Linked DNA regions of Homo sapiens: all the other regions are linked to region 4. The links are contacts of gene promoters, found by promoter capture Hi-C in blood cells and fetal thymus (Javierre and others, 2016). All regions are on one chromosome and are shown on one strand. Each heading gives the region's core, a stretch centred on a gene start or on the middle of the fragment in contact. The rest is flanking DNA. Distances are from core to core; before and after follow the strand shown. Region 1 overlaps CC2D2B (coiled-coil and C2 domain containing 2B). Region 2 overlaps CC2D2B (coiled-coil and C2 domain containing 2B). Region 3 overlaps CC2D2B (coiled-coil and C2 domain containing 2B). Region 4 holds the start of DNTT (DNA nucleotidylexotransferase).

What was found. Contacts are between HindIII fragments. The CHiCAGO score rates a contact against its expected background, and 5 or more counts as called.
Region 1: a fragment that was not itself captured here is called in contact with the fragment with the promoter of DNTT in region 4 in 1 of 17 cell types (neutrophils); the score reaches 5.4 in neutrophils.
Region 2: a contact is called between a fragment that was not itself captured here and the fragment with the promoter of DNTT in region 4, in 1 of 17 cell types (endothelial precursors). The highest score is 5.9, in endothelial precursors.
Region 3: a fragment that was not itself captured here is called in contact with the fragment with the promoter of DNTT in region 4 in 9 of 17 cell types (naive CD4 T cells, endothelial precursors, M2 macrophages and 6 more); the score reaches 8.8 in naive CD4 T cells.

The regions. Positions count from the first base shown.
Region 1 is chr10:95,965,947-95,968,646 of GRCh38, reverse strand. CC2D2B (coiled-coil and C2 domain containing 2B) reads right to left here. Exons shown (of 35, transcript NM_001349008.3): 13 at 2,649-2,700; 14 at 2,345-2,457. All of the region lies in intron 2 of ENTPD1-AS1 (ENTPD1 antisense RNA 1), which reads left to right. Among named protein-coding and RNA genes, the nearest start is that of CC2D2B, 59 kb to the right of the region's middle. The HindIII fragment of the contact is 1,914 bases long and covers 451-2,364 here.
Region 2 is chr10:95,993,315-95,996,014 of GRCh38, reverse strand. It overlaps CC2D2B (coiled-coil and C2 domain containing 2B), which reads right to left. Exons shown (of 35, transcript NM_001349008.3): 23 at 650-746. All of the region lies in intron 2 of ENTPD1-AS1 (ENTPD1 antisense RNA 1), which reads left to right. Among named protein-coding and RNA genes, the nearest start is that of CCNJ, 49 kb to the left of the region's middle. The HindIII fragment of the contact is 3,350 bases long and covers 1-2,700 here.
Region 3 is chr10:96,028,789-96,031,598 of GRCh38, reverse strand. All of the region lies in intron 34 of CC2D2B (coiled-coil and C2 domain containing 2B), which reads right to left. All of the region lies in intron 2 of ENTPD1-AS1 (ENTPD1 antisense RNA 1), which reads left to right. Among named protein-coding and RNA genes, the nearest start is that of CCNJ, 13 kb to the left of the region's middle. The HindIII fragment of the contact is 1,017 bases long and covers 999-2,015 here.
Region 4 is chr10:96,302,984-96,305,683 of GRCh38, reverse strand. It overlaps DNTT (DNA nucleotidylexotransferase), which reads right to left and starts at 1,250. Exons shown (of 11, transcript NM_004088.4): 1 at 984-1,250. The coding sequence starts at 1,186. The HindIII fragment of the contact is 4,232 bases long and covers 1-2,700 here.

The DNA.
Region 1 (2,700 bases), core at 158-2,657, 340 kb after region 4:
TAGCATGTTAAACAGAAGATAATTTCAGAGGACAAATGTTATCTTTACATCAAATAACACTTGTCTACATGTGGATAAAAGTTTCTTCTTCCCAGTCAAATGTTTTTAATGAAAGAGATGTACTCAAAATATGTATTCAAAAATAGAACTAAAATCAAGGTCCTATAAATCATTCAGCTCTTATTTTACTAAATTACAATTTAAAGAGATTACAGCACATATCTACCAGATGTCTTATGAGAGGAAAAAACTGAGGGGCTTGGGAATGGGGAGGGGAGGTTGAATCAAGAATTTAAAAATATTTCCTAACTTTAAAAAGACACACACATAGACTATATACACAAACACACAACCCTCCACACACCATGTTGTCAATAACTTCAAAGATGTGGCTCTAAGGCAACAGGCTTGCTGTGTCCTCTTAAAGGTCTTTGTAAATCACCTTAAGCTTTAGGCTGTGTACCCCTTTTCTCCAGGACAGTGGGGAGGCCACCCTATCTCTGAACCCAAAGATCAAAGGAGCAAGCCAGGTTACTTCCCTGGGGGAAACACTTGTTGAGGCATAAGTTGATCCCTTGACTGATATAAAACTCCTAGAGTCTTTCATTCGTTGTTTAATTCACTCAACCAATGTTTATTGAATATTTTCCTAGTGGCAAGAGAACTGATCTAATGATGTTTAAGACTTGACCCTCTTTCTCAGAAGGGAGAAGGCTGGGTGGAAGATAAACCCTAAGTTGAAACATAAAATCCCCTTCTGCTCCCCAATCTAATCACCCTATGGGCCCAGTATGTCCCTGCCTTATTATCTGTCCATCTCTGTAACCTTCTCAAAGAGTTAGGGGACAAAAGATTACCTATTCTTATCTCCCTGTTGGCCTCTTTCGACCATATTCCCAATTACCTTTCAAGAAATATCTAAGTAAAAGTTACCCTTTCTGTTGCCCTCTAAAAGTATTGATTTTAAAAATTTGAATTTGATTTTAAAAGTTTGTTGAATTGATTTTAAAAATTTGTTTATTCAGGGTTATAATTATCTTCAGGAAATCTTGCCTTTCTCTTCACCTGTAAACTCTTTTTAATTTTTCTCTAATCTCTGTATTCTTTTCACTTCTATCCTCTATATCGACATATTATTCTTTTCTGGAGAATGAGTTTTTATTCTACTGGGTGTGTTAAATAGATGACAGCAATGCTATCGGATGGCAATGGCTTTGCAAAGATATAAAACACCATACATCCTTTTGCCTTGACTTCCACTAAGTTTTAGTCTAGGTTTTCCAGCACAAATATCTTCTTCCTCCTCTTTCTTCTCTCTCCCTCCAACTTTCATTTTATGGCTCCTGTATTCTTCCCCTTGTTTAGATAGTCTTTTTATATGGGTGTCCTACATAATAAAGTATCTCAGGCCCTTTTTGGAAGAAGGTACAGAACAAATAAAGGATTTCTCCACTGCTGCACTTCTCTGGTCAGAAAGTGGGTGGTGATAATTGTGACTTTGTGTCTGCTGCCCTTTTGGTTGTTAATGTAAGCATCCATTCACTCATTTAATATATATAAACATTTATTGATTACCCAGTATTTTCCAACACTGCTAAATGATGCACATTCCCAATACTCAATGATGGACTGGTACCAAGTGTGCCATGGGATAGAGATGTTGAAAAATTAGACCTAGTACTCTAAGTTGCCATATCCTCTTTAAGGGAGATGGGATCCATAGGCCTAGTAGATGGAGAAATGGGGTTACCTATGATGTCTGTTTTTGCATAATGTTCTAGGCATAGAGAGAAAACATTACAGCTCAAGGAAGAAATCACAACTGTGAAGTAAAGAAGTTTGTAATGTCAAAGAAGAAAATTGTTTAGGGGGCCCTCTTGATGTGAAATAGTTTTTATGAGAGCCAGAGTTCCTTTAACAAGCAAAGACAATGGTATATTACTTTTTACAGTGCCTTTATATCTCACCTATTTATACCTGAACGAAAATTACTAACATAGCAAAACAAAACAAAAAAACCCTGCAAATTATCAATATATGAAGACTAGCAGTGAAGATATCACAGTTTCTATAGAACACCAAACTGGTTTATGTCCCACCTCAGGCATGTATTAGATGTGTGAACCTGGGCAATTTAACTTCCCATGAGCTACATTCCTTCTTTAAGATGAGGATAATATGGAACTCTATAGAGTTATGGTGACAATTAAATATGAAAATGTGTTTTTAAAAACTTAGAGTGCCTGGCATATGGTACTCACCCAAGAAATCCCACTTTATTATTAAAAACAATCCAATTAATAGACAATATATAATAAATAAATAATTATTTAAACATGCTTACAAGGAACACTTGGATAAGCTTGTTAATTCTGCAGTGAAAGAAAGTTGTGGCCTCAAGGTAATTGGCTTTATTCTTTCAATTTCTGTTTCGTCTGAAGCTAGATATGAGAGGCTCTAGAAATCAAAAAATAAATATATGATTTGCCATGTACATCCCTGTGTAGGACATTTATTCTTAAAATTCATTTATTTCTTGTATTTGTCAGTTTGTTGGATAACTTTTAGAAATACCAAGATTTCACATTCTATCAAAAAATAAAATATTATAACTAGTTGAGTTTAATGTTATTTTGCAATATAAATACCTCCAGTTTTTTCCCATTCTTAAGTTCTTTTCCTTCATTTTTCTTCTCAGTT
Region 2 (2,700 bases), core at 84-2,583, 310 kb after region 4:
TTTATTTATTGAATAAACATCTACTGGGTCTATTCTATATCAGGTACTTTTCTAGGATCTAAAGATAAACAGAACTTTCTCTTAAGGATTTTAAAGTCTATCAGGGGAAAATATACAGGTAAACAAACAAGTGCAATGAAATGTGAGAAATAAGAGAAACATCTTTAAGGTATGAAAATTATTCAGGAAAAGGAATGATTAACTTTTGGGGGTGACAATAAGGAGAGCATCATGGAGAAAACATTGCTTGAGCGTGTGCTTTGAAACTTTAAGTCGTAGTTCCTTTGGACAATAACATGGATATGCGTCGAGGCCATTCCAGGCAAAGGAAACAACTAGTAGAGGCCTCATAGAACAAGGAGTAGCATGATATGCCTATGGGATAGAAAGAGATGAGGCTGATTGTAGGCATGGGCCAGATGCCTGAAGATTTTGTAGCCATTTTAAGGAGCTTACACCTTATCATATAGACCCTGAGAGCAGGGAATGAAATAGTTAGAATTACATTTTATAAAGGCCACCTTTACTGTGTCATGGAAAATAAACTGGAAGCCAAAGAAAATATAGATGGAGAGATGAATTAAGAGTCAATTGTAATTCAGAACAAACATAATCAATATTATACTTTATAGAAGTGTTAAATACTTACCTCATGTAAGGTCTCATCTGAGGCTACTGATTTGATTGTTTCTCTATGTCTGAGGCAAGATATAGATGATTTCAAACAAGTAGGCATATCCAAGGATCTTCAGGAAAAACAATAGAGAGACATACACCTTAATTAGTTTTAATATTAGTTTTGGTAGGAGTGGGTGGGTTTTTCCTGTGCTTATGAAGATATATAAGTCAGTTTCTCTGGTTCTTACTGAGTTTGCCTTGAATTGTCTTATCATGTGTGGTTACAGCTAAACATTTGATAATTACTACTCTGGAAGCGCAACTCCTAAATATTGAACTATGGATTAGATCTCGTCTATGATAAAATATTCACAGGTATTCAGAAAAAGGGGAAGAAAAGGCAAGTTATTCACGATGGATGTCAATTAAAATATATATTGTGGGTGGAGGATTACCCAGGTGCCGAGGCAAGAGACTGAAGGCACAAACTGTTGCAGTGTAATAAGGAAAATAGTTAAAATAAGAATAGTTATAATACAGATTAGATATAGAGATGATCATGGACATTATCAGTCATTAGTATAAACATTATTAATCATTAGCTTTTAATATTACTCTTTTTGTATTACTAATATAACCAAGGAATGACCGGCGGGTATAGGGTCAGATGCTGAAGGGACATTGTGAGAAGTGACCTAGAAAGGAAGAGGTGAGCCCTCTGTCACACCCGCATAAGGGCCGCTTGAGGGCTCCTTGGTCAAGCGGTAACGCCAGTGTCTGGGAAGGCACTCGTTACTTAGCAGACTGTGAAAGGAGTCTCCTTTCCTTGGAGGAGTCAGGGAACACTCTGCTCTACCAGCTTCTTGTGGAAGGCTGGATATTATCCAGGCCTGCCTGCAGTCATCCGGAGGCCTAAACCCCTCCCTGTGGCACTGTGCTTCAATGGTCACGCTCCTTGTCCACTTTCATGTTCCTCCCGTACTCCTGGTTCCTCTTTGAAGTTCTTAGAAGATAGCGGTAGAAGAAATAGTGAAAGTCTTAAAGTCTTTGATCTTTCTTACAAGTGCATAGAAGAAAACACTGATGTATGCTGCCTTCCCTGTCTGCTTTGGCTACCTAAAAGGGAAGGGCCCCCTGTCCCATGATCAGGTGACTTGCTTGACCTTATAATCACTTGGACGACTCACCCTCCTTACCCTGCCCCCTTTCTTGTATGCAATGAATATCAGTGCGCCCAGCCATTTGAGGCCACCACCGGTCTCTGCATCTTGGTGGTAGTGGTCCCCTGGGCCCAGCGGTTTTCTCTTTATCTCTTTGTCTTGTGTCTTTATTTCTTACTATCTCTCGTCTCTGCACACAGGGAGAATCCCTGCTAAGCCCCGTAGGGCTGGACTGTACTATATATATATATATATATATATATATATATATATATATATATATACACATACATACACACACACACACACACACACACACACACACACACACACACATTCTCTCTCTCTATATATATATATATACACTCTCTCTCTCTCTCTCTCTATATATATATATATATACACTCTTTATATATACACTCTATATATATTCTCTCTCTCTATATATATATACTCTATATATATACACACTCTTTCTATATATATATGACAAGTTATACTTTAAGAATATATCCCTCCTACTTTTTTGGTGTTACAATATTCTTTTTTTTTTTTTAGCAGCATGATGCTTATAGAAAATGGTGGTGATTTTATATGTCTTTATTTCACAAAACAGCCTTTGAAATATGCATTTGTTTTGAGCATACTTAATTCTTTTAGAAGAACAAGGCTGTAATTTGTAAGACACTGGCAAAACCTTTAAGAGATGTTAACTATAGATTAGTAGCCAGTAAGCAAAGCATTTGTTTTTCATAGGAAGAATTCATGAGCTGTGGTAGGCATAAATGTAAGCAAGCAGGGCACATGTATTGAACACAGACAGAGGGGAATGCCTAACATTCTTAAGGCATTTGGGTATAAATATTAGTAATATATAAATCATACTGACACTACATATATGAGACACTAAATATCCAGGATA
Region 3 (2,810 bases), core at 258-2,757, 270 kb after region 4:
TTTACAGATAGGAGCACAACCAGGTCTGAGTCCAAAGCCTGCACATGTAACATTCCACAAACTTTCTAGAGAGCAAACTGCTGGTGAGAAAATTACTTGATTCTACATATGGGGGATTTAAGTGAGAATTTCAGAACAATTTATTCAACATCGATTCAGTTTATGTTTATTAAGTGACTACTATGTGATGGGATTAAAGGATTGTGGAACATGGTCCCATGGAAAATTACCTGTTTAATAATACATAGATGACAACCATTCTTTCACACTGTAATTGCTTAGCTCAGGAGGATTTTCCTGATCCTTAAATCTGTTCACACGCTCTTCCCATGTAGTTGTGTAGCACACTGTCCTTCCTTGAGCTTACTTAATAAAATATGTTGCAATTACCTGTTTTCTGGTCTCTCTCTAACTAACCCATAATCTCTGCAGATGTACAAGACTGTATCTGTCCTGTGTACTACTATAACTCCAGTGTCCAGCATAATGCCTGGCACATAGAAGAAAAAAAATAGATAGCATTTACTAAATACTTACTAGGTGTTGGGTGCCATGGTAATTATTAACTCACATAATCCTCAAGACAATGATAAAATGATAACTTTTTTAAAAAAATTCCTGTTTTCTAATGGAGTAGAGGGTATAGAGAGATTCGGTCACTTGCCCTAGGTCAAAGCTACTGAGTAGTTAAACTAGGATTTGAGCATGGGCTGCAGGGTTTAGTCCAGTTTTATTGTAGACTATGTATTACTAAATTGATTATTTTACATAGGTACTCCACATTTTAAACCTTGGCTTATATTTAACTATGCTTTATTATCTGTTTATCTCCTAATTCTACTAAAAACAAAGCAAAACCTACCTTACTTCTTTTACCATATGAGGAAACAGCAAGAAGGTGTATTATATATACAAGAACCCCTTTTCTGCCAGCACTTTGATCTTGGAATTCCCAGCTTCCAGAACCATGAGAAATAAATTTCTATTGTTTATAAGCTTTAAAATAAAGCAAAGCAAAGCAAAAACAACTTCCTCCCTATTCATGAGTGAATAGTGCCTGTAGATCCCTCCCTCCCCACCTAAGTACTCAACTCCCAATAGATTCCTTACTTCATCTCAGAGAGTTCCCTAGCAGACACCCTCTAGTCTATTGCATGGTAAGGGGAAGGAGTCTCACTCTTGGGAGGCTGAGGTTTTCAAAAACCCACTGGGCCAGTTTATAGGGAAGAAGAGGTGAAAGGATGCCCAGAGCTTGGGGTAGAGTAGGAGAAGGAAAGGAGCACCCTAACAATATACTAGATGCCCACCATGTTTGTTTATGGACTTGCTGAGTTTGAGATGTCTTTTTACCATCCAAAAAGATGTCAGTGGCCTGGCTGAATGTATAAATTTGGAAGTACGGTTGGTCCTTCATATCCATGGGTTTCGCATTTGAGGATTCAACCAACCACAAATTGAAAATATCCAGAAAAAAATAAAAAATAGCAGGCTGGGCACAGTGGCTCATTCTGTAATCCCAGCACTTTGGGAGGCTAAGGCTGGAGGATCATTTGAGCCCAGCAGTTCAAGACCAGTCTGGGCAATATAGTGAAACCCCATCTTTACAAAAATATTTTAAAAATTAGCCAGGCATGGTGGCAAGTACCTGTAGCCCCAGCTACTCAGAAGGCTGAAGCAGGAGGATTGCTTGAGCACAGGAGTTTGAGGCTACAGTGAACTATGATCACACCACTATACTCCAGCCTGGGTGACAAAGTGAGACCTCGTCGCAAAAAAAAAAACAAAACAACAATAAAAAATAATACAAATAGAAAACAATATAATGTAACTATTTATAATTATTACTTATAATACCTAACTATTGTGTGAGGTTGTACATAGATTATATGCAAAGACTATGGTATTTTATATAAGGGACTTGAGCATCTCTGGACTGTGGTATTTGTGGGGGTCCTGAGATAAATCTAATGATACCAAGGGACCACTGTAATTTGCATGTAGAAGATATTGAAGCTTGCCTGGAGTCCTCTTGCCCAGAACAAATAACAGGGAATTGATCTACTACTAGAGGTTTTTCTTAGTTTTTTAGTTGCAGAGTGGTTTCCTTTTGGACATCTCTTTGCAAAACCTGTAATTTATACATCATAAAACATATAACTGGTTCCAAGTTAATGCCATGCAACATGGTCCTAGTAATAATTCTTCAACACATTTGAAGTTTCTTGGTTTATAAGTAAATGCATTTTTAAAAATTTTTAATTTTTGTGGGCACATAGTACATATATAGATATACATATATATATATATATATACATATATATATATATATATATATATATATATATATATATATATATGGTACATGAAAAGATATTTTGATATGGGCATGCAATGATGCAATGCATAGTAGTCACATAATGGAAAATGGGCTATTCATCCCCCCAAGCATTTATCCTTTGTGTTATAAACAATTCAATTATACACTTTTAGTTATTTTTAAATGTACAATTAAATTATGATTGACTATAGTTACCCTGTTGTGCTATCAAATACTAGGTCTTATTCATTCTATTTTTTGTATCCATTACCCATTCCCCACCTCCCTCTGAACTCCCACTCCCCTTCCCAGCCTCTGGTAAGCTTCTACTCTCTATCTCCATGAGTTTGATTGTTTTGCTTTTTAGATCCCACAAATAAGTGAGAACATGTGATGTTTGTCTTTCTGTGCCTATCTAATTTCACTTAACATAATGACCTCCAGTTCCATCCATGTTGATGCAAATGACAGGATCTCATCCTTTCTATGGCTG
Region 4 (2,700 bases), core at 1-2,500:
ATCAAAGACTATTTATACAATCAAAATGTCCTTTCACATAAAATTTTTATAGTTTTGCCTGAAAATTTGTGGTCAATTTATTTCTTGCACAGTCAAAGCGGTCAACTGCATAAATCATTACTCCTTCATTGCAAGCCCCTTAACAGTTTAATCCAGAACCATCACTTATGTCAAGGTTCTAATACCATTTGTTTCTGGATTTTGCTTGTTTTCTCTTCATCTATTTGAGATCAGTGAAGAGCTTACACAGAAGTTAGAAAAACAACAAGAATAATTGCTGTTCAAGGTGAGTGGATTAGTGAGTGAACCAATCTAGGTGGTCCAAATGCTTCTATCGCCTCCTTGCCTGGGCTCTGATTACATCTCACTCAGTGTGATGTCTGTCATCCCTGGACAGAGCTGTCTTAACAGTGAATACATCTTTACCTAGCATCTCTCTTTCTAAGAACCCCACTAGGACCACTCTTTGGAAAAATGTGGTCAAGGCCACATCTGGGTGCCTGTGGTAAGCTGGCTAGTCATCCTCGCCCACCACAGATGCTAGCTGCCTTAGCACGCCCAGATGTATAGGTAAGAACCAAGCAACCAAATCATCTTTCTGCATCAAAGTAGCCAAAACTTTTTTGTTGAACCCAGTGATACTTTGTTCAAATTGGTCAAGAATAGAATTGAGTGGTTCAGCATTAAATTTTCCAATTAGTGTTCTGCTTATCATCCCTAAATAACACATCTCATAGGAGTGAAAAGCAAAAAACAAAAAATTTATCTCATCTTTTGGTGTCAACTAGTTTCAATATAATTGTATTCAGTCCCCACTTATCTCGTTTTCCTTAACTAGTTGTTCTTTGATTTCAAATCTGCTGTTCTCCCAGTGGGAAGATCACCTCTTCCACATGTGGAAGAAAACACAGGTTCCTTGGGTTCCCAAGAAGCTGTTCACAAAGCCTCTGCTTATTTACAAAGCAAGATCGATGCTGTCCTACCTGAGCTCATTTTCAACCCTGAACCCTTTCCTGCGGGCCAGCTCCATGAGGAACGCTCTGCGGGTGGTTCCCATTTTCTTCTCCAAAATGAAGACGACCAAATCTTGAAATTTGATGTCTTGAGGAGAGGAGGCCATCAAGGCACCCGTCTGCCGGGGTCTCTTCTTCCGAGGGCTCAAGTGGGACGCTCGTGGTGGATCCATGGGAAGAGGCTGCTGCTGCCTCTGGCTGGCCCATCTGGTGGTGTCTCCAGAAGGGAGGGAGACTGCCACCCTCCTACACGAAGGGTTTTGATGTCATCTCACCAGCAGACTCTGAAGCCAGGCCAGGGCTTCACAGGTGCTGCCCTGGCAACAGCTTCCTGCCAAAGTGTGATGGGGAATTTTTATCTCTGTTCAGTTCATTTGTCCAATATGGAGATCATAATGAAGACAGTCAATTAACTTTTGTTTTCATACGCACAATCTCATTAGCTCCTCAGAGTAACCTCGTGAGGAAGGTAGGGAAGCATCATTGTTTGCATGTTATTTATTTCTAAATGTACTGAGGCCCTTCTGTGGTCTTTATTTATTGATCCCCTTTAAACCTCCCAACTCACTTGCATTCTCCTCCTTTTGTAGACAATCATTACACTGTACTGGATGTCTGTTATTTGCATGGGTGTTATATTCTGCTTGTGGTTGTTTTGACTTTACATAAATGGCATTGTTACATTTCTCATTTTGCCAATCACCTTTTTATTTCACTTGGAACTATGTTTTCCAGATCCGTATTCTAATTGCTCTGTTGCTTCTAACTGCTCCATAGTATTTCATGGTGGGTATTACCACCTGTTCACTTACATAGGTACATTTTATAAGCAAGAGAACCAAGGCTCAGTTATTCAAGATCACAGAATAAGGGGCCAAGCCATATCTTGAATTCAGTTCTTTGGATTCCAAATGCTGTATGCATATATTAGTTTTTTAAGTGGATTAAGGTTGTCCAGAGAGTAGTCTGTTATAAACCCTAAAATAGGTCTTCTTCAGTGGGATGGTATGACTTTTAGATGATAACCACTGCCATAAGGAGACATTTTCATAACTTTATGTGCAAAATTAAATTTGTCTTTCACCAATACACTCTATAGATCTCATTTCCTGAGCAGCTACTACACGGCCAAGGCAAGCACCTACCAGCCTTAGCTGACAGGATCCTCACAATACCACTGTCAGGTGGTCCTACCTTTCTCATTTGGCTAAACAATTTGCCCAAGGTCACAGAGCTACTGAATTTTCACAACTGAGAAATGATTGAGCTAGGATTTGGACTCAGATCTGTCTGATTTTAAAAGACTACTCTTAACCACCAAGGAGCCTTCCTCTGTATTGTCTTCTCCAATAACCAATCTGAGCTCTGCTCACCCTTTGTCCTTTTTTTTTTTTTTGGAGATGGAGTTTCGCTCTTATTGCCCAGGCTAGAGTGCAGTGACACAATCTCAGCTCACTGCAACCTCCACCTCCTGGGTTCAAGCGATCCTGCTACCTCAGCCTCCTGAATAGCTGGGATTACAGGCGCACGCCACCACGCCTGGCTAATTTTTGTATTTTTAGTAGAGATGGGGTTTCACCATGTTGGTCAGGCTGGTCTTGAACTCCTGACCTCAGGTGATCGGCCCACCTCGGCCTCTCAGAGTGCTGGGATTACAGGTGTGAGCCACCATGGCTGGCCGTCTGTG